Linked DNA regions of Homo sapiens: all the other regions are linked to region 1. Evidence: promoter capture Hi-C in 16 types of primary human blood cells and fetal thymus (Javierre and others, 2016). All regions are on one chromosome and are shown on one strand. Each heading gives the region's core, a stretch centred on a gene start or on the middle of the fragment in contact. The rest is flanking DNA. Distances are from core to core; before and after follow the strand shown.

Region 1 (4,050 bases), core at 692-3,191:
TGCTGTACCATTTGAAAGTACTAGATATCAACACACTTCAACTCTAAGTACGTTAGTATGTATCTGCTAAAAATAAGAACACCTTCCTACATAACCACAATTCCTTTTCCACGTGAGAAAATTAATAGTCCATAACATTGTCTATATTGTGGTTGCATGGGAGCTTTTAAAGAATGAGGACCTAATCTATATATTCCCACTACTTAACTTGGTTCATAGCACTTATTTGGGTAATCAACAGATGTTCTACCAATTGTTCAGTTTAATACCCTCACAACAACTACTCTGAAAGTCATATGAATTTAACATTTAAAACAGCAACCTTTGATTTTAAAATTTTCTGCAAATCAGTTTAGTCATTTGCTTTAAATAAACCTGTGCTGCAGTAAGTACAGTATTCTGGGTTCTGCACTACTTAATTCTGCATCACAATGCTCCATAAAGACAGAGATCATGTCTAACTTTTGTCAGACATATAAGTAGGTACACCAAAATTTTTTAAATGAATGGATACTTTCAGACACTGAAAATGTTAGTGAAGAAATTGAAATCGAGGAAGAACAGGACAGGACAATAGAATACAGATTTTGAAGGCAGACAGATCTGGTTTTTAACACAGATTCAAACGTTTACTTATAACAAATGTTTAATAGAGCAAGTTGCTTGACTGTTCAAAGCCTCCATTTCTAACTCTGTAAAATGGTGATAATAATCTAACATACCTCCTGGAATTGTTGAGAGGAATAAATGACAAACTATGTAAAGCACTCGGCACACATAAGACTCAGTTAATGGCAACTATCGTTATTATTTTATCTATCTGAGACAAAAAAATTATCTATTTCATTTAAGAATTCTCAATAGCAAAACAAAATCCTGTCCCAGTGTAGAGCGAGGATTTTACGTGCTAAGGTCAGCTATGCTTCCCACTTCCACAGTTAAGCCTTCCAGCAAGACAACTACTAGCCAAAGGACACCAAGAGTCGCAATCTCCCAGGAAGTGGTCAAGAACCTCGTGAATGAGATCCAGGGATCATCACCCTGGCCCCTTCTTCTTCAAGGCGCAGAAGGCTGCAACGACCTCCAAATGACTAGGTGCGGCAGTGCCCTGCAGCCTCGGTCCCTACTATGAAAAGCTGCAACACATGAGGCTTTTGTTATTTTAAAGTGGGTGTGGGGTTGACAGAGAGAGGGATAAAGACTAAGGCAGAAAATTTTTTAAAAAGCCACCTCTACCCACAGCAGTCCCATAACTCGAGGCTAATCACTTCAGTGGAGCCAGGCACAGCGTGGGGTAGAAGCTCAGCGGTTCCCTTTTAGCTGATCTTCAATTTCTGGCGTCTCGAACCCAAGAAATGAAAAAGGGAAGCCATGGGGGAGCAGGAGGAGAAATCAAGGCGCGAAAGGACCCTCAAAGCTGTACTGTCACTCCACGCCCAGGCTGTCATTCTCTCCAGCACAAGCCCCTCGGTGGAGCATGTGTTTAGGGTCTGCAGAGCACAGGAGACAAAGCAGAAGCCCAGCAGCCGCCTCAACCCTGGCATGATCAGGTTCCGCATCTCCGGTTCTCCTCCGGTTTTGGGCCCTCACCTGCCACGAATGCGGTCGTCACGCGAGCAGTTGTGAGATGGTCAAGCCCATTCAGGTCTAGGTTACCCCCTTTCATCCCGGAGGCAGGGGTGAGGTGTTTGTCAAGAGACTTCAGTTGTAGGCGTGGACGTAGGCTACTTCCTTCAGTAACAGCTATAGGGCCACATAAGGGAACCTCAGGCTACTACACCTCAGGAATCTCCGTCACGCCTCTTCCCCGCCCTCCTCGGGTCTCACGCCGAAACCTCACCGGGCGGAACGATTTCCGGCAAGAGCCAAATGATCAGTCCTAACCTTTCTGACCGTGGTTCCAAGGTTCCCCAAAGGACTGCCCTCTAAAGGACCCGGGTAGTTCCGCTTCCGGCAGCGCGAGATAAATCACGAGAGGAAGCTTAAATCTGTCGTTTGAATTTAGGACCACCTCGGTGAGTGGTCGTTCTGGTGTGCTGTGTCATACCTACTGTTTTTTAAAGTGAGGCGTAACCCGACAGTAATTTCAAAACCATTCGCCTCGACCGGCCTAAGGAAGGGTTTAATTGAGTCTGTGGGGAGATTTTGCGCAAGCGCCTTTGAGATAGGAGGGCCTTGGGCGTTGCGATGTCCCGCGCTAGCTGAGCAGAAAGGGCGAGTGCTGTTTCGGGCCTGGGGAGGTGCCTACTGGGTGTAATTGAGTTTTACCAAACGGTCATTTTCCTGCTGATTCTGAGTGTGGTTGGACCTTGCCCTTAAGATTCCGTTAACGAGTCGCCCAAAGCTTAGGAAATGCTCCCTCACAGCGTTTGAGACTAAGCACTTTTGGCCGGCGTTGAAGAATTCTCCCCATTACTTTGATCAGTCATTTAATCAGAAATTTTGCCCCAAATTTAAATACGTGGCGGGGAGAAACGTGAGGTCAAGAGGGAATCCTGTCACGTAGTTTTAAAAGAAAAATGTCCACTTTATCTCAGTGTAGGTTTTTCTTAAATGGGCATTTCTGAACCAAAGTAGATACTTTTTAAAGTGGAAATGCATTTATCCCATGTGGCTTCATGTGAATGCATATGGCGATGAAGGCATTTTTTTGTTCAATGAATTTGTACTCTGAAGTGAACCAGATTACAGAGAAGTGTATTTAAATTTACAGGTCCTTGACGTTGCATAAAATTGTGCGTGTCCATTTTTTGGAGCTTAAAATAGAATAATTCAAATGTCAGAATTCCGATCCAAGTTAACATGTTGATTGAAAATTGCAGATTTTAAGATGGAACCAGCGGGTATTATAACCTTTTAGGGGCTTAAATTGGTGGCTTTGTTTTTAACCCTTGGTGAAACAGTTAAGTCCTAATCTTGACATAATACCTAACTGCCTTACTTTATTGAACACAAAATTATTAAAGGAATTAAGCAATGAGTTGATTTTATTTGCTTTTATGGAGGGGACAAAGTGTATAAAGCTTAACCAAATGTGACCCTGACATTCCTCTTGCAAAACTACAAGTTGTAATCAATCACTTTCATTTTTTCTTATTCCTACATGTTTAAGTACATTAAGTAATGATTTTAAGAGAAATTCTTGAAAATATGAGCATATCCAAAGAAGTCCCAGGACAGTCTTTCTTTATGTAGTAGAAACCACTTAATCCCCCTTGTAAATGATACCTTTACTTAGCAATCAGAGTATAAGAAGATATTTATATTTGTCTCGAATATTACAGTTTCAAGCCATTTTCTCATATGTATGGGCTTTGAAAAAAAAAAAACAACTTTCATTTACGTTACTTTTGTATATGAATACCAATTATTAGCAGTAAAACTTTTAACTACTTCAAAGGCTATGCTTTTCGTGAACTGAGTTTTCTTTCTTACGCATTTTCTATTTCTCCTTGTCATCTGTCTCTCTACCTCCAGAACCAGCAGTTTGTGAACTGCATTAGACTGTTATATCGTTATAAAAGGATACAATTCGTGAGTCTTCTGATTATTTTCTTCTTAGCACTGAAGCTTTATAAACATTGCTATAAAACATTAACACCATTAATGAAAGGAAAGAGATTTTAAAATATTTTTTCATGTAGGTGAAGATTTTGGGAAAAGAAAGGGTTTTATGTTACTTTAAACAGCCTGATATGGATGATAATACTTAGATATGATAATAATTATACATTACCATATACAAAGGACTTTTAATCATCCTCGTAATTGCAAAAAAGGGATAGATATTATGTCCTTTTCCAAACATAGATACTAAGGCTTAAGTCTATACCTTCTTAGACACAGTTTACTTATAGTGCCATGTATGTGAAAGTGAACTGTAATGTTTTCAAAAGTGAAATAATTTACCTCTGGAATATTTGCTATAATTTTTAATTCTCCTTTCAGGAAATGCAGGTAATTCTTTATTCATTCACAAATAGTTGAGTGTCCACTGTGTTCTGAACATTATGTTAAACAATGTAAACATAAAAAATTAATAAACTCTTT
Region 2 (4,050 bases), core at 1-2,500, 8.5 Mb after region 1:
CATGGCTGAGACATAAGAGAACAAGCTTGTAATTTCATGCTTGGGCATTAGATGCATTTTTGGAAAGCAGTGATCAGTAAGTATGTGTGCTTTCAGAAAGGAATGCTTGCGTTCTGCTCCAGGCTTTGTCGATAATGAAGGATTCAGGAGAATTTTGGATGGAGGTCTGAGGTAGCCAGAATAGTTGTAAAGAGAAATTGCTTCCGACAAAGGGATAATGTGAGGAAAGGTGCTCATTTAAGATTTGAAAGATGTGATGTAGTGAACCTTGGCGACTTCTCTTAAGTAATGCAATTTCTTAGGTAACTAGTTTTCACTTGCCACCTTATATTTAGATAATTACCTCCCCACCAACCCCCGTAAAAGGCAGCTGACTGTTATTTTTTCAAAACAGTCAGTTCCCGAAAGAGTTGTAGGTACTATTGCATTTTTTTTATGGGTATGCTCCTCATACCCATAAAAACATTTTCTTTATCGGAGCATACCGATAAAGAAAAATGCAATATGTTCAATTCAAGGCCCCTGTTAACACCAGGCCAGTGTCTTCTTAACCTTTTGAGAGTAATGCAACAAACCATATTTAGGACAGCACATTGATTTTCTGGCCTTGTTGGTTAATAATTCAACAAACTTATAATCGCCCCATTAATCCCAATCTTGACATTTTGTTGAATCTTGTATTTTTTCTTTATTTCTCCAGTTGAAAGTATTATAAATTACTTCAGGGATATTATGTATTATATCTGTACAGCAACTAGTTTTTAGAGGCAGTGATTTCTCTCTTTGAATTGCTCTTGAATGTAGCCAATCATTAATACTTACCCCAAGTAGATACTGTCTGCCAGGCACTTTACATTTATTATTTTATTTAATGTTTAATAAAAAAAGAAAATCACAAAAATTGTATTATTTCTATTTTGCAAAACATTTTATACTGAGACCCAAAGAGGTTGTGATTTTCCATAAATTATACAATTAAATGGCACAATTAAAATTTGAATCCAGTCTACCTGACTCTAAATTTTGGCTCTTTTTACTGTGCTCTATACCTTTATAAGTAAACATAACAGTATCATTATTTTCACTCCAGGTAAAAATGGATAGATAGTATGTCACATTTAGAAATCAAGTGGATAGCAAAACTTGAGGATAAAAGGGACTTAAGGGATGTGTTCATCACCATAAGGTAATTTTGACATCTAAATAATGCAGTTTCTTTAGTGCCTTTATCCTTGGCCAGTTTTATTATCCTAATTCAAACAAATGCCTATACTGTACATTAGCATAACACTTGGGGCAAATGCAGAAGATCTGGAGACCATCAGCAAGCATATTGGTGACTGAGTCCAGAGTATCAGCTAACTATCTCTTTAGACAGCTTTTCACACACACATTTGTATACATGTATATTTGTGTGTGCATGTGTGTGTGTGTGTGTAGGGAGAAAGAATGAGTAAATGAGCACAAATTCATAAAATTCAACTTTGTAATGATTTATAAGGAATTATTAGCAAAACTGTGCTGTTCCACTCACGTAACCCTCAAACAGATGGGGATTATCACATAGTTTCAGGAATATGCTTTATTAAACCTGCCCATCCCAATACCCAATTCTATATAGAGAAACAGAAATAGCCTAATTTTCAGAGAATTTACAAAAATTTAGTTGAAATGACCAATACTAGAAATGACATAGAAGTTAATTCTAAAGAATATCCTGTTTTACAACTGTATAGGTATAGCTAGCCTGAAATACTAATGTGTATTTGATTACATTGCATTGACTTGTAGGCAGATCCCGTAGGCAGATCTCAGGGATATTTTGCTATCAAATTTCAGTGCTTATGAAGTTTGGGATTATGTCTGTTTTGTTCGTCATCTCAAACCCAGCATCTAGCACTGTGCCTGGCGTGTAATAGAAGCTCAATAAATAAGTCAGGAACCATGACTCATGACTGTAACCCCAATACTTTGGGAGGCTAAGGCAAGAGGATTTGAATCCAGATCCTCTAAATTTTGGCTCTTTTTACTATGTTCTATACTTCCTTTAATAAATAAACATAGGTCACAGTGAACTATGATCATACTACTGCACTCTAGCCTGCACAACAGAGTAAGACCCTGTCTCTAAAAAATAAAAAATAAGCATTTATTGAATGAATGATTCCTTTTTAAAATGTTATTTATCCACCGAGAAGTATTTGTACATTTTTTAAAGGATTTACCACATAAATAAATATTTATTTTTACTCACCTTGCCCCTGAAATACAGTGTCCACTCCACACTCATTCATAAAAGGCAATGTGCTGTCCTGCAAAGAAGACTGGACTGTGAGACAGGAGATGAGAGAATATCTAATATTTTTCTGTGTTTATTCTCTGCTATTCAGTGTTAAATTACTCCTTACAGCACAGTGGGTAAGTATTATTATCCTCCTTTTACAGATGCTAAAACTGAGGCAAAGATAAGCTTTGTAAATTGTCGTAGGTTACGCATAGTCATTAAACACAGCTATGATTTGAATGAAGGGCTCTGATCCCAAAAGCGATAATCTTAACCACTTTGCTAGCCTCCAGTTGAATTTTTAATCCTGGTTCAGCTGCTAAATGTGTGCAAAAGCTCTGGGTATCATGTTTCTCATCTATAACATATAGGAGTTTGATGGATTATATTATCTGTAAGGTCCCTCCTACCTCAAAAATCCTCTGACTTTAGTTGACTCCTAAGTATTATCTGAATATAGCAGTTCTGGAGTGCCAGAAAACCCTCATCAATTTTGATGTGTTTTATGTAAGCTTTTATATGTGTTCACGTCTTCCACATTGGTGGACACACAATCATGTTTTTGCAATAGGAAGAATAGAGTTAAAAAAATCACAGCCATGCTTTTTTTTTTTTTTTTACCAGCTATGACACTAATAAGTCACTGAACCTTTGTGAGCTTATGTTTTCATATGTAAAATGGATCCATAGGATTGCTGTGAGCGTTAAGTGGGTTGACTTATAAAGCCTCAAACGTGTTGTCTGATACACAATTGCTGATAAATAAATATTGATTCTTTTTCTTGCTCAGTCTTGCAAGGATAAAAGATTAGTGGATATGAAAAATGCTTTATAAATTAGACAAAGGTGAAGAATATTTTCACTTACAGTCTACTAGGAGAGAGAAAGTTATATAAACAAATAATTATATGTAGGGCAATTTACATACATCATTGAACACAAAACATGGGAATGCAAAGAAAAGAGATTTTTTTTTTTCCAGGAGGGCAGATGAGGAAAGACCTCATAAAAAAGGTAATATTGAGTTTGTGCCATATAGGATGGAAAGGATTTTGGCAGGGGAACAAGAGGGACAAGTGTTCTACTGGAAGATGCAAAGGTGTCAGAAAACAGAAATAGTACCTAGGTCACTTTGGCTATGTAAGATGGATGAAGGCTGGTAATAAAGCTGAGGTAAAAAGCTGAGTTTAGGACAAGCTGTAGATAACTGTGGGCAAGTTAGAGATGTTAGGCTTTTAACGATAAGCAATAATCTGTGTGTATAACTAGGATGGGGTGGAGGATGGAGTTGGCATTTGTTTTCTTTGTTATGGAAAAACGCCCATTTGTTACAGAAACATTAGAGTGTACAAATATGCCAAAAAGGAAAGAGAAAGGAAGAGTGGCCCATGACCCCACCACTCAGAAATAACTTATGATTTTTCTCTGTATTACAGATTTGCATATATGTGCTTTTAAAATAAAAATGAAATAATACTGTCTATATTGTCTTGTGACCTGCTTTTTTCAATGTGCTATACCATGAATTTTTCCATGTCAATAAATTTGCTTCTATAAAATAATACTTAGGGCCTGTATGCTATTCAATTTTATGAATATGTTATAACTTTTAAACTGACTTCTTTCTGTTAAGTAATAGTACAATAAAGGTTTTTATAGTAAAATATTTAGACATATTCGTATCTATTTTCTTATTACAATTTGTAGAAGGAGAAATGGTCACCCACAGGATATGAACACATATAATACTTACATGTATTGCCATA
Region 3 (4,050 bases), core at 910-3,409, 7.6 Mb after region 1:
CATCATCCTTGATGTTATTTTCTTCTTTTTAGTCTGCAGGGTTTTTTTTAACCAAAGGAAACTGGTTTGAGAAAATTGTGAAATCAGCATTGAAATTTGTTACCTACTCCAATCAAGATTTGCAAACTACAAAAAAATCATTCTGAAGCTTTCACCTATAAATATATACCAAGATAATTTCAGATAAGGTAGTAGTTTCTAAAGCAAGAACATATGAAATATGGTGCTTTAAATTATATAATTATTGTAACTAGGCAAAAAAGTTACTTATCTGCCTATTTAGGGAATCTGGTTCTAGCTGTAGATAAATTGATTTTATGGTATCTTAATTTTTCTATTATTTTGAATCCTAACATTTTTTAAGTCAAAAAGATTAAAAAATATGTATCTAACTTCTCAAACTTCTTTGGTCTCATACTTCTGTGTTAGCTTCTTCTTTGGATATAAAGGACTGTCAGTGTACCATGTCAGTGATTCATCTTTTTGGTACATTTTACTCCCTTGAGCATCTGAAGCCTATAAATACTTAATATTTACCCCAGCTTTGTTTTACCTTTCTATGAGATTAGAGGAGCTGACAGAAAATACAAATATTTCTTTTTTTCAACATTGAATTATGATTGAATTAGACTTGTTTATAGGTAAGCCAGAATAAGTTGTGTAATCTTAAAATATGCTAATTTATTTAAAATTAATATATCTTAAGACTAAATGAAGAAATACTTTCTCTACTAATTAAAATATCTTTTTATGGCTGAAATTAGTATACAACCCTTTTGCATTATCCATTGCTTCCATTCAAGTTTAAACATTGTTTTTCTTTAGAAAAAGTACAGGTAATAAACCTACAGTAATCCTTATTGTGAAGAAAGTTAATATCTTGATTTATGTTTCACAGAAACTAGCATTAAAACAATGCTTTCTTAAACTTTCATATCACAGTCACTGAAATTATTTGTGTTAGTGTTTTATCTGTGACTTGGGCTTATTCTACTGGATCTAGCTTTGTATAGAGTGGGAGAGTTGGATTGAGATTGGTATGTGTTTTGAGTCCTGATCAACAAGATCATTTGTATTTTAGCCAAAATATATAGAGAATGAATGTAAATAAAATATAACTCAATTTCAACACTTATTAATTGATCATCTATAATTTAAGATACTAGGTCCTGGGGATGCGGCAGTGAAAAAAAAAATTCTTGCCTGCATGGAACTTAGCTTCTTGTGGGGTTGGGACCCAGAAAATAAACAGGATAAATAAGTAGAATATATAGTATATTAAATGTGACAAATGCTTTCAAGAAAAATAAAGCAATGGAAGGGGTTCCGGAAATAATGGGTTGTTGAGAGTAGGGGGATGGCAAGATTAAAATGTTAAATAGCATGTCAAAGGAAGGTTTCATTGAGGAAGTGACATTTGAGTACAGATCTGAAGAGGTTAAGGAATAAACTGTGTATATTCTAGAGGGAAGACTGTTCCAGAGAGAAGGAGTCTTTTCCTTTTCCAGGGTCCCTTTTCAGATGGCTAAGTTTGTTGGAACATTTACGATTGGGTAGGTATTACTGTAGATTTACTCAGGCTTTCTGCCTTGACAGAATGTCCAGCAAGGAAGTGAAGACTGCTCTAAAAAGTGCTAGAGATGCAATCAGAAACAAAGAATACAAAGAAGCTTTGAAACACTGTAAGGTAACCAGTATTTTTTTCTTCCACAATGAAAGTATGTTACCCATTTATAAACATTGTTGATTTGTAATATGTGAATTATTTCCTGTCCAAACAGCAAAAGTGGTAAGGCCATTTAGTAGAACCATTAGAATGGTTGGACTTTTAACCTCTAGTTAGCAGGATAAACTACCTCTGCCAAACTTAACTTTCTCTGTATTGGTAACTTAACAAAACCAAGTTCTTAAAACCTGAATATCCCATAAATATCTTTTGATGGTTGTATCGTGGAATGCTACTGTATCTTAAAGTTTTCATTGTTTAATGGCATGTTAGTGTTCTATTTCTATTTGGTTTGTGGATGAGAGGACCAAGATTATAAAGCTTATTTTTATGCTGATGGGTATGATTCCATTCAGAGGGAGAAATTGGACTCGGGGGAGAGACAGAGGGTAGTGGTAGGAGTGAAGTCATCAGTAGGTGAGAGACACACTGGGATCCAGAGCTTGAGGGAGCCCTTTAATCCTTCTTCCATCTTAGCAGGAGAGAAGATAGGTGCCCATCCATACAGTGTTGGGCTTATAGATTTGGTGTTGGGAAAAGCTTTCTTCTCTAATGGCTTCTATTTTCTTGGCAAAGTATAAGATGAGACTGGGAGAAGACTTGGTTATTGGTTAGGAGGTTTGAGATAGCAGAAGGTATGAAATAGTTTCTTTCTTTGTTTTTTTTTTTGTTTTTTTTTTTTCTCATGGTGGGAAAAGAAACTTGCTAGTAAGGATTGGAAAGATTAGCAGGCCCTAGTGATTGCCCATTTGAAGTTTCAAGCTATTAAAGTGAAATTAGTGAACTCCGCTGTAGTTTTTCTCTTTGTATTCAGTTTCTCAGGTTTGGAGATGGGCATGATGGGGTTCAAGTATGGATGGAGAGAAAGAAGAAAGGAAAGACATGCAAAGGAAAGACATGACAAGGGAGTGATGACAGTGGTGAGCCCTGGAGTCTAAGCTGGGTAAAGAGGAATGAGAAATGAGAGGTGGGCTGATAGGCAATGGAAAAAGCGTTTAGGATAGAAAAAATTAGAGAAACCAAAGGTTAAAGATTTGTTACCATGGGACCACTACAGTAATTGAACTGGGACGGTTAGAGAGGAGCAGAATAGTACTGTGCTGGAAATTCAGATTTTGGATGGGTGAGTAGTGTGGTGGTCACATAACTGAGAGGCCAGAGTGTTCAACGGGATATCAACATGAATACAGGCACTGAGGTGGAAAAGAAGGATACAGAATTTTCACTGAAGGAAAGGGGAATTAGGAAGGTGGTAGACTGTAGCAACAAGAAGGCTATTTTTAGTAGTATAGTTGGATGGCCTGAGCTTCAAAGGTAGTGGGGTTGCTGAAGGAGGAAGGAGCAGTAGAGGACTGTAGGTGACAGACAGTGTGAGCAAGAAGCAGTTTCTCACCTTCTAGGCCTGTGGCATGTGAGCTGTAAAAGAAGTCATCTGCAATCTGTAGGATGTATAGGGGAATTAGCCATGTTTTCATTGAGGCAGAACTTGGTGTGGTTAAAAGAAAGGTTAAAAATATGGAAGGAACTTGGCTGACCCAGATTGGGAGTTCCAGAGGGCACAATGAAGAATTTAGGAGAGTGGTAGGGAGGGAATTGGGCAAGACTGGGCAGTATACATGGCAATATGAGGATGAGTCTAAGGAGTAAACAGGTAAAGGATACCCTTGTGAGGTTTAGGTTTCTGGTGGTGACTGATGGAGCCCAGCAGGGATGCAAGGACGTGATAGTATTAATCTTGATATAGAAGAAGGTGGGCAGTGTGTTCCAAGTGGGGACAGGTTGTGGATGGAATACAAGAAGGGAAGAAGGACTGTTTCCTTCAGCACTAGGTTTATCTAATTGATGCACGTTTCAGTTATATACAGCACCACCATAGCTGTCTTCTTCCTGTAGACTTTCTGCAAAATTCAGATATTAATTCCACCAAATAGTTAATAATTTATACTAGAGAGACCCAATTAGAAAATGCAAATGGATAGCTAATCAGTTATAAATGCCTGATTACTAATGTGTAGTAACCCAGAATATTGGTTGAGACTAAATGAATTTTTGAGTAAAGGAATGTTGCATTTGCTGTGGTTTTGTCTGATCATCACCTTGTCTGCCTGTGGCGCTTTATCACATGGTATGAGTATCCCTTCAGGGAAGCCTTCTCCAGTTTATGCAGAGTTCGGTACTTTTTTCTCTATGTTCTTTCAGAATCTCATACCTGCCTTCACCACATTGTTGATAATCATTTTCTTAAACATCCATTTTGGATTCTGAAAACCTGGTCATCAGGCAGATAGTCAGTACTTAACTAATTGCTGGTTGAGTATGGCATT
Region 4 (4,050 bases), core at 720-3,219, 7.5 Mb after region 1:
TGCCTCCAACCCGACAAACTGGTGAACTTTTACGGGACTGATAAAAAAGGAGCAGAGAAGACTGGGGCTAAATGATAAAGGTTTCAGAGAACTATGATTATGGCTGTGCATTTTGCTTAGAAAAGTATAATTTTATATGTCAAATAATAGTTTCCTCTATGTATCTTAAATGGTACTATTTATACTATTTGAGGACTTTTTACATTTAACACCCATATTATTCTTACTATTGTGAATATCATGATCCATTCACACAATAGGGAAAGCCCACGTGTTCACCTTAATTATCGTTATTTTGATGAACTATTCATAAACTCCCAATATGTTTCGATTTTAAGTCTACTTTAAGATAATAGAATCTTAACTGAATGAAACAGAAAATTAAACAACTCATACAGTTTGACGGCTAGTTGAAAACATCCCCCTGAAAAACTTAGTCGTTGTGTTTCATGTTCTCTTCGAGAAAAATTTTTGGCCTGTCCCTAAAATTGGTTTCTAAAGGTGCTAACTCCATATAAAATTACAAATTAGCTAAATGGATACTCGGTCACTATTAGATTCCTTTCCAACAAAGGAAATAAATTCAAGTGGAATTTAAAAAAATATTTAGTGTAACTCAAATTTCCACAAGACACGGGAGATAAAAGAAACATGAAGTGAAACGTACTTACTTGTCACTCGTCTTGAACCATGACTAAGATGCTTTTACCAAGTGTGGAAACTTTGCCTACACATTATCAGAATGCTTATCTCAAGTATGACACCCTTGCTTTTACATGCAGGGAAGAGAAATGCCTTAGAGAGTAGTTTTGGTATCTCTCTGAATGGCAGAATAATAACAGATAAAACTAGCTGTCCTTTAGTAAATGCCTACTGCTTGGACCCTTTGAATATAATAGTTCATTAGTCTTCACAAAACCGCCAACGGGTAGGCATTAGTTTTATTCAGGTAGCACCCACGTTTTTATAAAAACATGAGGCTTGCAAGTAAACTATCCTGAAGACACAGAAACCTTTTAGCAAAGCAAATATGTATATTGGTGATATATATAGTATTGATATTTATATTTGTCACCAAAGATGGTCCTGAATTAAAAAAAAAAAGGAACGCTAATGTGCAACAGCTATGTTCACGAATGTTTACAATTGAACGCTTGCCCAATAATTTTATATAAAGTCACAGAGCTGCTCTGGAAATCAGCACCATCGTATGATGTTGAATTGTGATCACGAGTGAGCTAGACCTGGGTTTGCATCCCAGTTCTGCGTGATTTGGGGCAAGTTGCTTAACTTCGCTGTGCTGCAGTTTCTTTTACTTTAAGAAGGGCCCGCCACATAGGGGTGTGGGTAAAGCACATAAATGCTTTAACACATGTCAAATGTTTAGAGCAGGCCTAACCGCAGAAAACGCTCACAGCGCGTTAGCTGGCACCTCTAAGGTCCATCCAGCTCTGGCAGTTATCCTGCCTAACTTCAAGTTGTGTTTAACATTTCGGTAAAGACCGCCTGCAGTTCTGAGACTGCACGTGGCTGTCCAGGTGCTGCAAATTCTCGACACAGACTCCAGGAGGCGAGTATCTCCAGGACGGCCGGGGCTGCGGAAGCCCTGGAGCAGCTTCTATACTTTAGAGCTTTCATGGCACAAATGCCATGAAAGCTTGTTAAAAACGACCCGCGTACCCCCCTTAGGTGGCAGGTCTCAGGTGTGGCCCAAGTTTCAAGGTGAACAAGCTCGGTGAGTCTCCTGTGCCTGGGCGGAAGCCCGCCTTGGCGGGTTAACCGTTAACTAACGCTGAACCAAAACCCAAGAGGGCCTCAGGCCCCGCAGCGGCGCGGCCACAGCCGGAATGAGGAGTCCACGCCCGCAGCCCAGCCGGAAGCAGCTGGTCCCGCCAGCCCGCCCCCTGCGCGGCGAGAACAGAACTTACTGTCCCCGAGTCCTCGCTCCGCCTCCGCGTGACGCTACTGCACGAGCCAGAGCTCCAGACGTGCGCGGCGCCTCGACGGGGGCGGGGCGAGGCCGTCCACGTGACCCAAGAAGGCCCGCCCCCGGGACCGCCTCTATGGCATTGCCGGCAGATGACCCTGGTTGATAGAGATCTCTGGCCAACAGCGCCGCGCCAGCACCTTCAAACTGGCAGGCATACTCGTGTACTTGACAAATGTGGATAGCATCAGTTTACTTTTTAGTTGTTTGTTGATCTCATTACATTTATTCAAATTTTAGATGCGCCCAGCGACTTCATTCAGTTATTTACCCTATAAAAATATTTGCAGAAGGTCGTCGCGATGCTGGTAACCCATGTATAAGGATGTTAAGGCCGGGCGCGGTGGTTCACGCCTGTAATCCCAGTACTTTGGGAGGCCGAGGCGGGCGAATCACCTGAGGTCGGGAGTTTGAGACCAGCCTGACCAACATGGAGAAACCCCATCTCTACTAAAAATACAAAATTAGCCGGGCGTGGTGGCCCAGGCCTGTAATCGCAGGTACTCAGGAGGCTGAGGCAGGAGAATCGCTTTGAATCCAGGAGGCAGAGGTTGCGGTGAGCCGAGATCGCGCCGTTGCACTCCAGCCTGGACAACACGAGCGAAACTCCATCTCAAAAAAAAAAAAAATGTTTATTGCTGTGAAGTAGTGAAAATAGCTGAAGTGATAACACGGAGGAATGGTTCAATAAAACACAGCACAACAGTACAGACATGTGAATTACTTCGTAGCTGTGTACTGTATACTCAAAGGACAGGCCCATCATGTAATGAATATTAAAGGCAAAGCGTAGAATACTATATATGGTGTCCTCTCTTTAATGTAAACAATTATTTTTTGAAATACAAACATGCAGGTATGTACATAAACTTTTTCTCGAAAAATCAAAAGAAACAATAGTGGTTGCTTTGGGAGGAGATGGAGAGTTTTCACTTTCATATTATGAACTTTGCAATTTTGCTTTTTTCTCATTGTACTTCCCTGAATTGACAACAACAACAACAAAGAAAACCACCAAAACCCTCATATTTGTGTTCCGAGCTGGGAAACTAGATGAGCCTAAGTTTTTAATTTCCTTGACTACTTTCCAGTGCAGTGATTCTTAACCCTGGCTATGCCTTAGAGTCGCTTGGGAGTTTTGAAAAGTCGTAATGCCCAGTCTGTATGCCAGACCAACAAAATAAAACACAGATTATTTGGGGTGGGAAGGGAGTGGGCAGATTCAATGTATGTTTTTAACTTCCTGAGTGATTCCAGTGTGAACCCAAGGTTGAACACTACAACTTGTATTTAGTATGGTGACATAGTGATCTCAGGCTCTAGGGTGGCCCAATGAACTGGGGCAGCCGAAACCCAGGAACTTTGTCCATTTACCTCAGTGTGCTATATAAATGCCATTTTTTAAATGAGCCTCAACATGTAAGAAGTTGAATAGCTCAGAATAATTTGTTTCCAGTGCTAGTTTCTTCTGTTTTTTTTCTCTTCAATACAGTTTTATGGTGATCAATAATATTTTATTGGGTCATTTCCCTTTTGGCCATTTTTTTCACTGACCCAAACACAAATTAACTATCTAGTTTTGATGTATCAGTTATCAAAGATATAAAATATATTTTGATTTATTGTAATTTCCATTATCTGTTAGTCATCCCAAATGATTTTATTGGCACATGGAAGGTGTTAGTAGTCCCCAGCTTGTCATCGAAGGATTAAATAAGGTTTGCCATTTTAGAAATCCTTTTTTGCTTTGTCATATTCTGGGCATTAAAAAAGGACACATCTTAGATCCATCGACCTTAAATTTGATATTGAATAAACTGAAGACCTCAGTAGTTATACATGCATATACACACAAGTAGGATGAAAGAAGAGAAACTTTCTTTTATCTCTACCAAAAGTATTCATATGGTTAGTCATGTGATGTTTGGAAAGCTATAATGGAGGTCAGAATAAACTACCCTTCTCCACTTCCCAAGTGCACACACACACAAATGCACAAAACCATTCACACACAGGCATGCACATTAGGTAACAGCAAGAACCCATCCAGTCTATTTGGAAGT
Region 5 (3,723 bases), core at 1,224-3,723, 7.3 Mb after region 1:
TTCTCAGGAAGGGTTGAGCTGAGACCTGGTTAACAAGGGGACTGCTATGCAGAGATGAAGCAGAAGAGCTTTTCAGGCAGAGGGAATAGCAAGTGCAAAGGCTCTGAGGTGGCAACAGGTAAGGGATGTTCGTGGAACAGAAAGAAAGCAGGAATAGAGTGAATGAAGTGCAGTGAAAAGGAAGAATAGCGAGAAAGGTGGGCAGGGGCCAGAGCACCCAGGCCATGGTAAACAATTTGGATTTATTCAAAACGCAATGTGAAACACAGGTCATTTTGGCTTTACCTGTGTTCACTTGGCAAATCAACTCTATTTAATTGGCTTCCCAAAAGCCAAAACAAAGTTTTCTAAAATCAGTAACCTAAAGGAGATCTTTGGCTCTGTGGAAAACCACAGGGCGATGAACATTTCAGAAGGGAACCGTGATGGTTTTGGAGTCTGAGCTCCTCCCTCCCCCAGTTCCCCAGCACAGCTAGCGCTAGCTAGCTCCCAAGCAGGCCAATTCAGAGACCTGTACCCAGAGAGATGTAAATGCTGCTTTAGTTGAGGGAGAAATGAATGGTTCTTTAACCAAAATGTTCTTGGAGGGGTATCTATTGCCTGCTAATTAATAACTCATTTCTTGGGCAATGAGTATACATTATTTGTGATGGTTACTCAGCATAGCAACAGAAGGGGGAAAAAGGTCTGAAAAAATACCACTGATTTCTCTGAAATGAAATAGTCAATGCTATAAATCTTCTAATCAGAATTCTACGATATCATCACAGCAGGTGCACCCTATGTCTGTCTGAGTTCACTTCCTGGCCTTACCACTGGTACTAAAAGCACTCAAACCCAATTAATGGTTTCCTATTCTGGGACATGTTTAGCAATTTAGGCTTAGATTAAGAATGAGAGAAGATGGGAAATGTTATTTCTCCAACTGCTTCTATTTTGGTGTGGGCATTAGAGTCCCCCATATTCAGAAAGTCTCCTTATTTGCATTTGGCCTTTTCCTTCAGTGTTCTATGCTGTCAGTATTTTACTGGCAGCTGCATCTCAAGGCCATCTGCAACAGAGTGTGTTTAAATGGCAGGTGTAAGTGTTCTGGTAATGAGAGAAAGGAAGGATTTTGCCTTACAAGGAGATCCCTTCTTTCTTTCCTGGCAGAACAGGCCCCATGCTGACGTCCCTCCTCAAGAGCTGGATGGCATTGCAAATGATGACAGCACTTCTGGTGGATGAATTTGGGGGCACAAACAGCTTTTTTCCTCTTTTGGCTCAGTATTTAAAAGTGGACCAACTTGCTCTTAATCACAGGGCCAAGAAGGTTGACGGGCCATCTTGGTTTTCTTCTGGATGTGCTCTTTGGTTTTCAGAAGACTGTGACAAGTTCTGGCCCAGGATTCGCTCACTGACCCTCAATTGTCCTCTTTGGCATGCGTTTCTTACTGTTCTCCATGTGTCGGCATGTCTCTACCTCTAAGCCAGTGTTTTTCAACTATGTTTATCCAGACTCCTTCTCCACAATGATGAATCCACAGTTGGTTATCTGCTACTGCCCATTAGCTAAAATCATTTTGCTGCTTGACTTTATGGAGTTTGTATTATGAAATCAGTGGGTATTTTGAATGTGTTCTTTCTAACTACATGCATCTCTCCACTCAACTCCACCCCATCCCATCCCACCTTGAAAATCACTGCTCTGAACCAGTGTTCTCCACCTTGTCCTCCACAGATCTCATAGGAAATGTTCAACAATTCTGTGAAAGGTCACAGGACCCAATTGGAGAAATCATATGAAAAGCATAGTTGGTCTTGGTGTCATATGGATCAGAGGCACAAGTGCAGAGGCTGTGGTCATGCGGAACACTCTGTTATTTAAGATGGCTATCCAGATAATCCTGAACACTGTGTATTTATTTTATTTAGACTACCAGCAAAGATTAAAGCATGAAATGTAAAACATCTGATAAAACTTACAGCCCCCTACACCAAGAGTGTATCTGTGAAAGAGCTCCTACACTTTGAAAACTTAAGAATCCCTTATCATGAAGTTTGCCTGTTCTAGAATTGTAAGATTGTTAATTTCCTTCAATCTCTAGTGACAACACTTAATTTCTTTTCTAATAAAAAAAACCTATAGATGATTCAGTGATTTTTGTCCAATTCATTTGCATGTTCTCAAGACATTAAGGAATGTTATGCGAAATACACTAACTTAAAACTGTGTTTATATTTGGCCCTGCCATTATAAATAAAGACACGTGCTGCTGTCACTCACTGAGTACAAATGGCTGATATAATTTTGAAATTTCATATTGAAATAAATGCCAGCCCTGGCTTACTGAATAATGCTTAGGGTTTAATAACAGTCTTTTTCATTTCATATTCCTTTTTGCCATTTCCCACTTAAGGCCCTTGTACTTCTCGCTTCTTTCTTTTGTGGGCCCTAACCACTCCCTTCAACCAGGATTGCTATGATAATTGTTCAGTTTACACCAGGATTGCTATGGATAATTGTTCAGTTTACACACTGCACAATATGAAAGCCCTCCCACCGGAGGTTATAGTATCTGATCCACTCTGGACCACTTGCCTGCACTTTCACACTTCTTTGTCCATGTTCATTGTGTTTCTTTCTCCTGAGATGCCTTTTCTTCTTTGTTTTACTTTGAAACTCCTCCTCGTTCAAGGCCTGATTTACAGATCATTTCCCCTATATTTTCTCTCTCCTCTCATGGCCTTTTGACTGAAAAATCATCGTTCCCTCTTCTGGAATTCAAAAACACTGTGCATGTAGATACTCTACAGCTCTTATCAGGCTATGTTGTAGTTAATCATCTGTATTGGTCTCCTGCCAAATTCAGAAGTACCCAAAGGTGACTGGGCGCGGCAGGTCACACCTGTAATCCCAGCACTTTGGGAGGCTCAGGCGGGTGGATCATGAGGTCAGGAGTTCGAGACCAGCCTGGCCAATATGGTGAAACCCCATTTCTACCAAAAGTAGAAAAATTAGCCGGGTGTGGTGGCACGTGCCTGTAGTCCCAGCTACTCGGGAAGCTGAGGCAGAAGAATTACTAGAACCTGGGAGGTGGAGGTTGCAGTGAGCTGAGATCGTGCCACTGCACTCCAGCCTGGGTAGCAGAGCGAGACTCTGTCTCCAAAAAAAAGTACCCAAAGGCAAGAACCTAGACTTAACTATGGAAACCCAGTTCCCAGCATAGAAGAGCTGTTTTATCAAAGCAATATATGCATACGGTTTAAAAAGCCAAATAGTACTAAAAGTCTTTCCTGCTCTATCCGCCTCAAACCCAGGTCCTGGTAAAGTACCTTACAGGGCCGTGTGCCCCTCCCCAAGGGTATTCCCTCTCTCCATCCCTCCATAGAGGTAACCACTACTTCATTTTTCTTGTAATCATTCTGATACTTTATAGTTTTACTCCTTATAATATCTCTAAGCAATACATTTTACTTTTGAAAAACAATAACACCGACCTAGCTGTGTAAGAAAAAGGTGATATCACAATTAGACGAACAATCCCAAGAACAGGTAAACTGAACATTGACTCTGAGTTATAGACTGGCTTCGGCATCCCTTGGAAGTTTTCCAGAGCCTCTTCTGGGGAAGCAGAAGTGGTGCTGAGTGAGTCCTTGGAAACACGGCACCCCACGATCAGGGAGGCTATTGTGTGAGCCAAGAACGGGGTGTCCCCCAGAAATATGGTAACGGCAGAGGGC
Region 6 (4,050 bases), core at 502-3,001, 6.6 Mb after region 1:
TTCCTATACAATTCAGAGTGATATGCTGCTACCATATTGACCAAATATGAAGTGCTTCCTCTTTGGGTGACCTGATAGCAGCAGAATACCTCTCTGAGTCATTTGATATTGATTTTTGATCTTCACTTCCTGAGATTTTTTTTAAACCCCAAACTGCAAATTAGAGTAACTTGATATTTCTATGTCTTATGATGTGATACAGAGACAGTATCCCAAAGCTCATTTCATTTCTGAGGGAGCGGTGTGTGTGTGGGGGGGTCTTATGTATGAGTGAAGAGACAGTGTTTCAATGTTACATTTTCTGTTTTTTTTTTAATTTAAAAAAACAGATGTTGCAAAACAAGATTGAGGTTAGTCCAGGACCATTTTTAACTACTTGAACATCTCCAAATCTGCACATTAATTCTGACTATATTATCAATTCAGAAATTCAAGAGATGTTCCAAAGTTTAATAACATCTTCAAATGCTTTTAGGTAATTGGTCATTTACTTTGCTAGCCTAGTGTTTGTTGTTTTTAATCTGCATGCTTTTCAGTGATGTCCAAAGCAAGTTGATTTCCAAAAGGCTTTCCAAACCTTATCTTTTCTAACAGATAAATATGAGAAAAGCAAAATTCTTTTACTTTCAGATAGGTATGATATAAGGATCATATCCACATATTGCTACGTAGTTTCATACCTCTATCAATTACTATTCACTCACCTCCTTTCCTAGATGCTTCAAATTAACTGGTAATTGTATCCCTTTAAAGAGCCCATCCCTAGAACTTGACACTGCTCTTGATAACCTATGTGGAGGTTTGAAAGGAAGCTACTCGCGGGAAGGCTTGAAGGACACCAGGTGACCTGGTTTGTCTAACAAACAGTTTTTCTTTTGCTGGCTGTTTAACCAGTCTTTGCCTTGTGTGTAGATTGCATGCTCTGACTGGGGTTTTCAGAGGGGTGGGAGAGAAAACAGATAGAGCCTGCCTACTAGAGAGGTGGAGAAGAATGAGGCCAAGTGAAAGAGAGGGCTGAAAGCATGAAAGCTACTGCAGGGAGATATTTTAGGGGAGGAGTTGACAGGATCAATATGGATATAAAGGATGCTTTTGCTACATGATATACAATATAATTTTGCTCCCCCCCTCAAAAACATTAGCAAATATAAAAATTAGGTATCTACAGTTTTGATGGGGAAAATGTGCTGAGACTGGTCTTGGGAAAAAAGAACCATGGCCCAAGTGACCGAGTGACAATCAGATTACTCCTGGAAGCAGCACTTCTAAAACAAAGGAAGAGAAAGTTATCCACCCTTTGTTTTTCTGCCGCTTCAAAGATGGCAGAGTCTATAGTGACATGGAGAACAGTGAAATGAGATGAGGTTAACCTCTTTGGAGAGGAAATGATGAGTCAGTTGCCATGGGAGTTGAAAAGATAAGTTTTTTTTTTCTCTTCCTGTGTTGCTCACAGAAGTATAGTAACTGAAGTGTTTTAATAAAAAGTTCTCATCTCAAGGCCATCAATGGCTCATCATACACGTATGTGACTCCAGCAATACAAATTAGATGGTTTTTCAAATCATAGCACAACTGAAGGGGAACAGAGAGTACTTGGAAAGCTTAAATGGGGGCAGGAGGGGTAGTCTATTGCTTCAACTTTAGTAAAATGTGTTCAGACATTTTAATAAAATCTGCTGAAAACAGGCAGACTGGTTTTATATCTTTTGGTAAAGAATCCAGTTCAAATAGAGTTGTGAGTAAGAGTAGCTTTTGGGCGAAGTGAAGGATGGTAACTGAGTTGGGTGAAGAGGATATGGGACAGAGCTCAGCAAGGGTGGGCTTCAGTCTGGCATGAAGCCAACAAGGCAGCAGGCAGTCAGGGAAGTTCAAATATTCCAGCCACTGTATTGAAAGCTTCTTTTCTTTAGAAGCAGCCTCCATATTTTAGTCGTATTTGTATTTCTCCAAGACCATACATAATTAAGTGCTTAATTTGAGCACTGGGTAGATTCAAATTATAAGAGAATTAGAGTTCTGGGTGCTCATAGGAGAAGATAGCTTGGCTTAATAACTTTTATCAGTGGAAATGAGATCAGAAGTTCCCATGCCTGCCCCATATCTGATTTAAATCACACGTTATATTCTTACTTGCTTCCTTCTTTCTATAAAAAAAATTTATACTGTTACAAATATCCCTCCATCAAAATGTCAGACCATTACCTACTCAATTATTTGGGAGGGGAGCATTTCTCATGGTATTATCCCAAATTATGATTAGAATTTCCAAGCTGTCATAATGCACAGATTTAATAGGACAGCTCAAAAAAGATTTACTTGAGAAATGTGATGAATATAGAGAAAGAAAAATGTATCATCACTCTGGAAATCCATGGATTTTCTTCAACTGCCATACCTGTACCTTACTCTTTTCCACTTCTATAATTACCTCTCCTTCCTTACTTCTATGCGCCTATTAATCCTCTACAGACCAACTTGCATCACCATCACTCCAGTAAAATTTTCTTGTCAAAGACATCATTGATCTCCATGTCGCAAATACACCAGGCATGTCTACAACTTCATCTATTCAACATCTCACTGCCTTTGGATACTGTTGTTCCACTGTCCTCCTCCTTTTATTTTCTTTTGGAGACGGAGTTTTGCTCTTGTCGCCCAGGCTGGAGTACAGTGGCACGATCTCGGCTCACCGTAACCTCCACCTCTCAGGTTCAAGTGATTCTCCTGCTTCAGCCTCCCTAGTAACTGGGATTACAGGCGTCTCTCACCACGCCTGGCTAATTTTTTGTATTTTTAGCAGAGATGGGATTTCATCATGTTGGGCAGGCTAGTCTTGAACTCCTGACCTCAGGTGATTCACCCGCCTAGGCCTCCCAAAGTGCTGGGATTACAGGCCTGAGCCACTGCACCCAGCCCTCCTCCTCCTTTTTCTTTAAAAAAAAAAAAAAAAAAAAAAAAACCTTAAATATTTAACATATGGTTATTTAACATATAGTTAAAAGATTTAAATGTACTAAAGGGCTCCTCATAACAAAACAACAGTATCTTCAATTGTCGGTTTTAACAAATAAAAGTAGGTACCACTGAGGACATACTTAGGTTTAAAAAGTGTTTATTTGGCCAGGTGCAGTGGCTCACGCCTGTAATCCCAGCACTTTGGGAGGCCGAGGCGGGAGGATCACGAGGTCAGGAGATCGAGACCAACCTGGCTAACACGGTGAAACCCCGTCTCTACCAAAAATACAAAAAATTAGCCGGGCTTGGTGGCGGGCGCCTGTAGTCCCAGCTACTCGAGAGGCTGAGGCAGGAGAATGGCGTTAACCCAGGAGGCGGAGCTTGCAGTGAGCCGAGATCGCGCCACTGCACTCCAGCCTGGGCGACAGAGCGAGACTCCGTCTCAAAAAAAAAAAAAAAAAAAAAAAAAAATTGTTTATTTACATAAAACTCAAATTTAGCTGAGTCTCCTATATTTTACCTGGCAACTCATGCCACCATGTCCTATGCCTGTTCTTCCTCCCCAGAGGCAATATTTTCTAATTTTAAAAAGCTGTTTGTTCACTTAGCTCCATATTTCTAAATAACATTTTTAAAATACTGATTTTTTACATTTTATCTTTGCTTCCACAATGATAAATGAAAAGTTAGCTCCCTTATATTCTTCCCATTTCCCTCTTCCTTATGCTTTCAGTATTCGCTGTGCCAATTATTGTTTCCTTACAATATTTAGCAAAATGCCAACACTGTCATATTCTTATTACATCAACCTTAGGTAACATTCTTTGACTTTTGCTAAGGTGGGGAAATTAGGCTTCTGCCCACGTTTTCTTTTTTCCACTGGTTCCTCTCATTCTCTGCTTTCTGTATTTATTGAATTTACAAGGTTGATACTATATGCCATTTGTTCTGTAAGAGTAATTAGGCCTACAAGTTGATTCTAAAAACTGAAAGTCAATGAAATGTTTACATTATTGTGGCTTTGTAAATATTGTTCCCTGAAGAGCCAATAATGCCTACTGTAGTTTTCTTTTTCTTTCTTTCTTTCCCTTTCTC
Region 7 (4,050 bases), core at 1-2,500, 6.6 Mb before region 1:
GCGCTTCCCCACTCGGTTCCCCCTGTCTGCCACAAACAAACCAGATGTAATAGCTGAAGAATGACGACACTAAAATCAACCTAGAGATTCACATCTAAAAGGGCCGCAACACGAAATAAACTTCTCTCTCTTCAGAGGCAGCGGGGAAGAAAAAGAAAAAAAAGCCTAGGTGGGTTCGGTTTGATCCATTTCCGCGACTCCGTGCGCTCAGGGGCTCTGGGCTGGTGCGGGCGGCTTAACCCTGTGAGAGCCGAGAACGACCCCACCGGGATACGCGGGCCCCGGGCTGGCGGGGGGTGCCTCACGCCGCGCCCGTTCCCCCGCCAGCAGGTGCCCGAAGCCACCCCAACAGGCCGGGTGCGAATGCCGGAACATGGCCACTTTCCTGAGCGGGATGATGCCGCCGCCGCCGCCGCACGCCGCCCAGCACTTTGTTAACTTGGCGCGCCCGGGCGAGGTGGCTCCCAGGAGGTGATCATTGCCGTCCGAGAGCTACAGAGCCCCTGGCCTCGCCCAGCACGGGTGTGGGGCCGCGGCGGGAGGAAGAGGTTGGGTAGCAGCCGCTAACCAGGGGCCCGCACGCCTGGCCCCTCGGAGCCCCGCGCCCCCTTCCCAGGTGCTTACCTGAGGGAAGGAGCCCTCGCGGCGCGGGTTCCTGGGGTAGTCTAAGTGACCCCGGTCCAGCATCAGGTAGAGCGAGAAAATCACCACACAGAAGATCGCACTGCCGAACACGGTGAACTGGCGGCTTAACTTCATTTTCCTCGATAGACTCGGGGCCAGGACACTCTCCTCAGCCAAAGGAGACAGCGCACTGTGGACTCTAGGAAGCAGCCGCCGGAGGCTCCCTTCTCCCGGGCTGCGCGACCTCCGCGCTCTCGGATGCGGGTGCGAGTCCCCGCCTTGCTCCGCACCTAGTCTCCGGCGCCACCACACGCCCTTGGCCTTCGCCCTGGCCTGCCGCCCTCCCCGGGGTCGGGCGCCCCTCTCGAGGCGAGACTCGCCGGCAACTGGGAAGGGGGGCCCCCACAAACTTGATCGCAAGCTCAGCGCCGACCTCCGGCAGGGCGCGCGGGGCAGGCGGAGGAGAGGTCGCTGCCCGCACTTCCTGCCACCGCCGCCCCAACTGAGTCGGCAGGAAAAGTTTTCTCGACGAGGGCAGGCGTGTCCTCCTCACCCAGGGGAGGCGCGGGTTCGGCAGCTCCCGGGCCGGGGCCGCGCAGCTAGGTCAGAGAAGCGGAGGGGAAAGGAACAAGATCGCGAGGAGCCAAGCCCTACAACTTCTGGGCGGGACGGTCGGGCCCGCCCCCGCGGCACCGGCACCGCCCCCGCCTACCCCGACTGAGCCCCTTCGTGCTGCTGCCGCCGCCGCCGCCGACGCTGCGGCTGGGCCGATGTGCACCCCGGACTCCGGGGCTCACGGATTGATGAGTTTCCTCAGAGCTAGCGTCCGCTCGCCAGACTCTCCCGCCCCCCGCCGCCCCTACCTTCCCCCTCCCGGACCCAGGCTCCGCGGGGAGGCGCAGGGGGCGGGCGGCGGCAACGCGGAAAGAAGGAAAAGGAGAGCAGGGAGGAAAGGACCGTCCCCGGAGAGAAGCCCGCTCCAGCTGCAGCCGCTAGCCCCCTCCCTCTTTCCCGCCCCACAAACGCGGAGATGGCGGCGGAAGCGGCGAAAGGAAGCGCCGGTTCTCCAGCGCCACTTGGCGCTCCAGCACCGCCCGCCACGAGCAGGAGGAGACAGCGGCGGCGCAGCAGCCGCTGGGTCAATAGGCGCCCGCAGCGCCTGAGCCGAGCGGGCGGCTGGCCCCGCCCCCTCCCGACGCTCCGAGATGAGGGGGCGGGCCCCACGGCGCCCAATCACAGCGCGTCGCCCGGCGGACCCGCCCCGCGCCTGCCTCCCAGTGTCCCGGCGATAGGAAGACCTCACAGGGCTCTTGTGACCTGGCAGGCAGCTTTCTGGGAGTTGAGGCCTTCGGGGGCGTTCAGGCGCCAGCACCCCCACGTCCAACAGGGGTTGAGCTTACACCCCACTTCCCTTTGTTGCTCAGGTTTCCTATCCTAGGACACTCGGGCCTGGCGTGCCTGGAAGAGTACTTGGTGACGGGCTGGAGGAAATGCAAGAGAAGAGGGCTTGCACATTCTCTTCGGGCTCACTATTTCCTCCTTTGGTGACAGCCTGTTAAAACCTGGGGGAAAGGAGACTGACAAAGGGCCGTCCAGGCACATGTAGAAACATCTGACTACGAAATCCATGAGTGTAATCTGAGAAGTGATGCTTCTGCCAGTTATTGATTTATTGCCTCTCAGCTCCAAATTCGCCCTTTTTGACTGCACTGTAAAAACGGATCTGAGCCTTTTAAACAGTTTTTCGTTTGCCTTCTGGGACTGAAGCTTTATCAGCAGAGGGCGCTGAAGAGACATTACAGAAAAAAAGGATTTTGCTTCCTGATTTCTGTGTATTGATAAGCTTTTGCAGCATACCTGGCTTTCTCCACTGCCAAGGTCCTATAGTGCTCAGTAACTAGCAATTTCCTCTCACATGCCCAACTCTAGGAGCTTTGTAGAGGAGGTGAGACACTACCCCATGAATAACTTCCCTGGCACCCTAGAGGCATTTGCAGCAAGTTGCAGAGGGCACATCTTCCACAAGCTTTGCAGACGTAGCCCAATGGTGACTTCTCTGCCATTCAGTGAGCCAGGTCATGCCCTCTCCAAAAACGTCTAGATCTTAGCCCTGGGAGGAATTGGGGAGGTTCTTCATTGGGCACTCTGTCTCTCAACCCAAGAGTTAGTTATAAGGTTAGCTCCTTATAGCTGCTGTTGCTATATTCTTTAAAGTTCTCTTCTTGCTAGTGAATCCTTCATTACTCTAATCCTCTATTATAGTTAACAATTCTTTTTATTAAGCCTTCCCTGTCCCGGGAGTAGTCCCAAGAAATAGACCTGCAAAGATGGGATTAAAGGTCAGTTTGATTGAGGTTTTGAGCTTTAGCTCCTTGCCAAAGGGAAATGTAATTCATGACATGCTGGGCATCTCAATTAAGCAATTACCTGTGGTTGATCCTGATGAAGTGCCAACTGAAGCCTGTGCCTTGGGGCCCCAAGTGGCTGCTACACTTGACTGCTATGGTTATAAAGATGACTAGAAAGACTGGTGTGGGATGGATTCTTTTGCGTGCTTTTGAGTGGTTATAAAGAGAAATGACAAGCACAGGTTTTTTAACTCTCAGAGTTATGGTATGAGAACCAGAGATATTCTGCAGAATTCCAAAAGCTCTGGTTTATTGTAGCAACAAGAATTATGCTGAGAATCAAACAAAATTTTAATTTTCATGTTACTGAATTATAACTGCTATTAAATTCACACATATTCTGAGTTTTTCGTGTAAAATGGTGTTATTTTTTAATAATAGAATCTCAATACTTGAAATGGGTTGGACCCAGATGAAACCGACAATCTTAAACACGCCAACTCTTTCTCTTATCAGTGGAAGTAGGTTGCCCTCCAGTGTCTAAAGAGACTAGCCTTGCTTGAAAACCTTGACTATAGAGGATGCCACTATCTAGATGGGCTCCCTGATTTCAATGGGGATGACACGATCTCAGAATAGCAGAAACCAGGCAGCACATAACCAACAAAGACAAGGTGGGCGCACATGTACCTTAAAGGGCAGCAGGAAATCAGACTGCCTTGGCTTACGGAGCTGCTCTGAGAACAAAATAGATAGGCAGTTGAAATAGATTATTGCTTGATATTTATAACAGGTAAAAAGATCTAAGTCAGGTAGCCAAAACCTGACTTGAGTCACCACAGTGGATAGTCACAGTCTCTCAGTTCTCAGACCTAAGTCAATTCACAGACCCATAGTCCCTTGGTTGAAAGAGAATCTGTGTTCCCTTTAAGAAGGATCTTGCACCTTGGCTACAGTACACATGGCAAATTCTTTCAAGCTTTCCCCAAAACGACATGTGGCCATTTACTAGTGAAACTGCATTGGCGAAAAGGAAATACACAGATCATTTGAGGTTTACTAAACACTGGCTCTGAGT

What was found. Contacts are between HindIII fragments. The CHiCAGO score rates a contact against its expected background, and 5 or more counts as called.
Region 2: a contact is called between a fragment that was not itself captured here and the fragment with the promoter of GIN1 in region 1, in 2 of 17 cell types (naive CD8 T cells and total CD4 T cells). The highest score is 8.1, in naive CD8 T cells.
Region 3: a fragment that was not itself captured here is called in contact with the fragment with the promoter of GIN1 in region 1 in 1 of 17 cell types (naive CD8 T cells); the score reaches 5.0 in naive CD8 T cells.
Region 4: the fragment with the promoter of RFESD here is called in contact with the fragment with the promoter of GIN1 in region 1 in 1 of 17 cell types (total B cells); the score reaches 7.0 in total B cells.
Region 5: a contact is called between a fragment that was not itself captured here and the fragment with the promoter of GIN1 in region 1, in 1 of 17 cell types (non-activated CD4 T cells). The highest score is 6.1, in non-activated CD4 T cells.
Region 6: a fragment that was not itself captured here is called in contact with the fragment with the promoter of GIN1 in region 1 in 1 of 17 cell types (activated CD4 T cells); the score reaches 6.8 in activated CD4 T cells.
Region 7: the fragment with the promoter of MAN2A1 here is called in contact with the fragment with the promoter of GIN1 in region 1 in 2 of 17 cell types (total B cells and total CD8 T cells); the score reaches 11.0 in total B cells.

The regions. Positions count from the first base shown.
Region 1 is chr5:103,118,029-103,122,078 of GRCh38, reverse strand. GIN1 (gypsy retrotransposon integrase 1) reads left to right here and starts at 1,941. Exons shown (of 8, transcript NM_017676.2): 1 at 1,941-2,015. PPIP5K2 (diphosphoinositol pentakisphosphate kinase 2) reads right to left here and starts at 1,778. Exons shown (of 31, transcript NM_001276277.3): 1 at 1,591-1,778. RefSeq lists enhancers at 1,378-1,437, 1,488-1,677, 1,708-1,967, 1,803-2,303, 2,304-2,805. The HindIII fragment of the contact is 9,897 bases long and covers 1-1,983 here.
Region 2 is chr5:94,613,918-94,617,967 of GRCh38, reverse strand. All of the region lies in intron 1 of KIAA0825, which reads left to right. Among named protein-coding and RNA genes, the nearest start is that of KIAA0825, 2.7 kb to the left of the region's middle. RefSeq lists an enhancer at 1-350. The HindIII fragment of the contact is 2,445 bases long and covers 28-2,472 here.
Region 3 is chr5:95,544,698-95,548,747 of GRCh38, reverse strand. It overlaps SKIC3 (SKI3 subunit of superkiller complex), which reads left to right. Exons shown (of 43, transcript NM_014639.4): 3 at 33-188; 4 at 1,597-1,687. The coding sequence starts at 1,598. Among named protein-coding and RNA genes, the nearest start is that of SKIC3, 8.3 kb to the left of the region's middle. The HindIII fragment of the contact is 219 bases long and covers 2,050-2,268 here.
Region 4 is chr5:95,644,696-95,648,745 of GRCh38, reverse strand. It overlaps RFESD (Rieske Fe-S domain containing), which reads right to left and starts at 1,969. Exons shown (of 6, transcript NM_001131066.2): 1 at 1,929-1,969. The HindIII fragment of the contact is 4,150 bases long and covers 1,660-4,050 here.
Region 5 is chr5:95,812,387-95,816,109 of GRCh38, reverse strand. It overlaps GLRX (glutaredoxin), which reads left to right. Exons shown (of 3, transcript NM_001118890.2): 3 at 1,721-2,261. Among named protein-coding and RNA genes, the nearest start is that of GLRX, 8.5 kb to the left of the region's middle. The HindIII fragment of the contact is 5,335 bases long and covers 1-3,723 here.
Region 6 is chr5:96,534,941-96,538,990 of GRCh38, reverse strand. All of the region lies in intron 4 of LOC101929710 (a long non-coding RNA gene), which reads right to left. It also overlaps a transcript of CAST not described here. Among named protein-coding and RNA genes, the nearest start is that of PCSK1, 100 kb to the right of the region's middle. The HindIII fragment of the contact is 295 bases long and covers 1,604-1,898 here.
Region 7 is chr5:109,687,127-109,691,176 of GRCh38, reverse strand. It overlaps MAN2A1 (mannosidase alpha class 2A member 1), which reads right to left and starts at 1,250. Exons shown (of 22, transcript NM_002372.4): 1 at 625-1,250. The coding sequence starts at 759. It overlaps MAN2A1-DT (MAN2A1 divergent transcript), which reads left to right and starts at 78. Exons shown (of 1, transcript NR_186543.1): 1 at 78-3,376. RefSeq lists silencers at 387-486, 897-1,106, 1,137-1,656, 1,667-1,956 and enhancers at 2,067-2,166, 1,926-2,594. The HindIII fragment of the contact is 3,132 bases long and covers 1-2,393 here.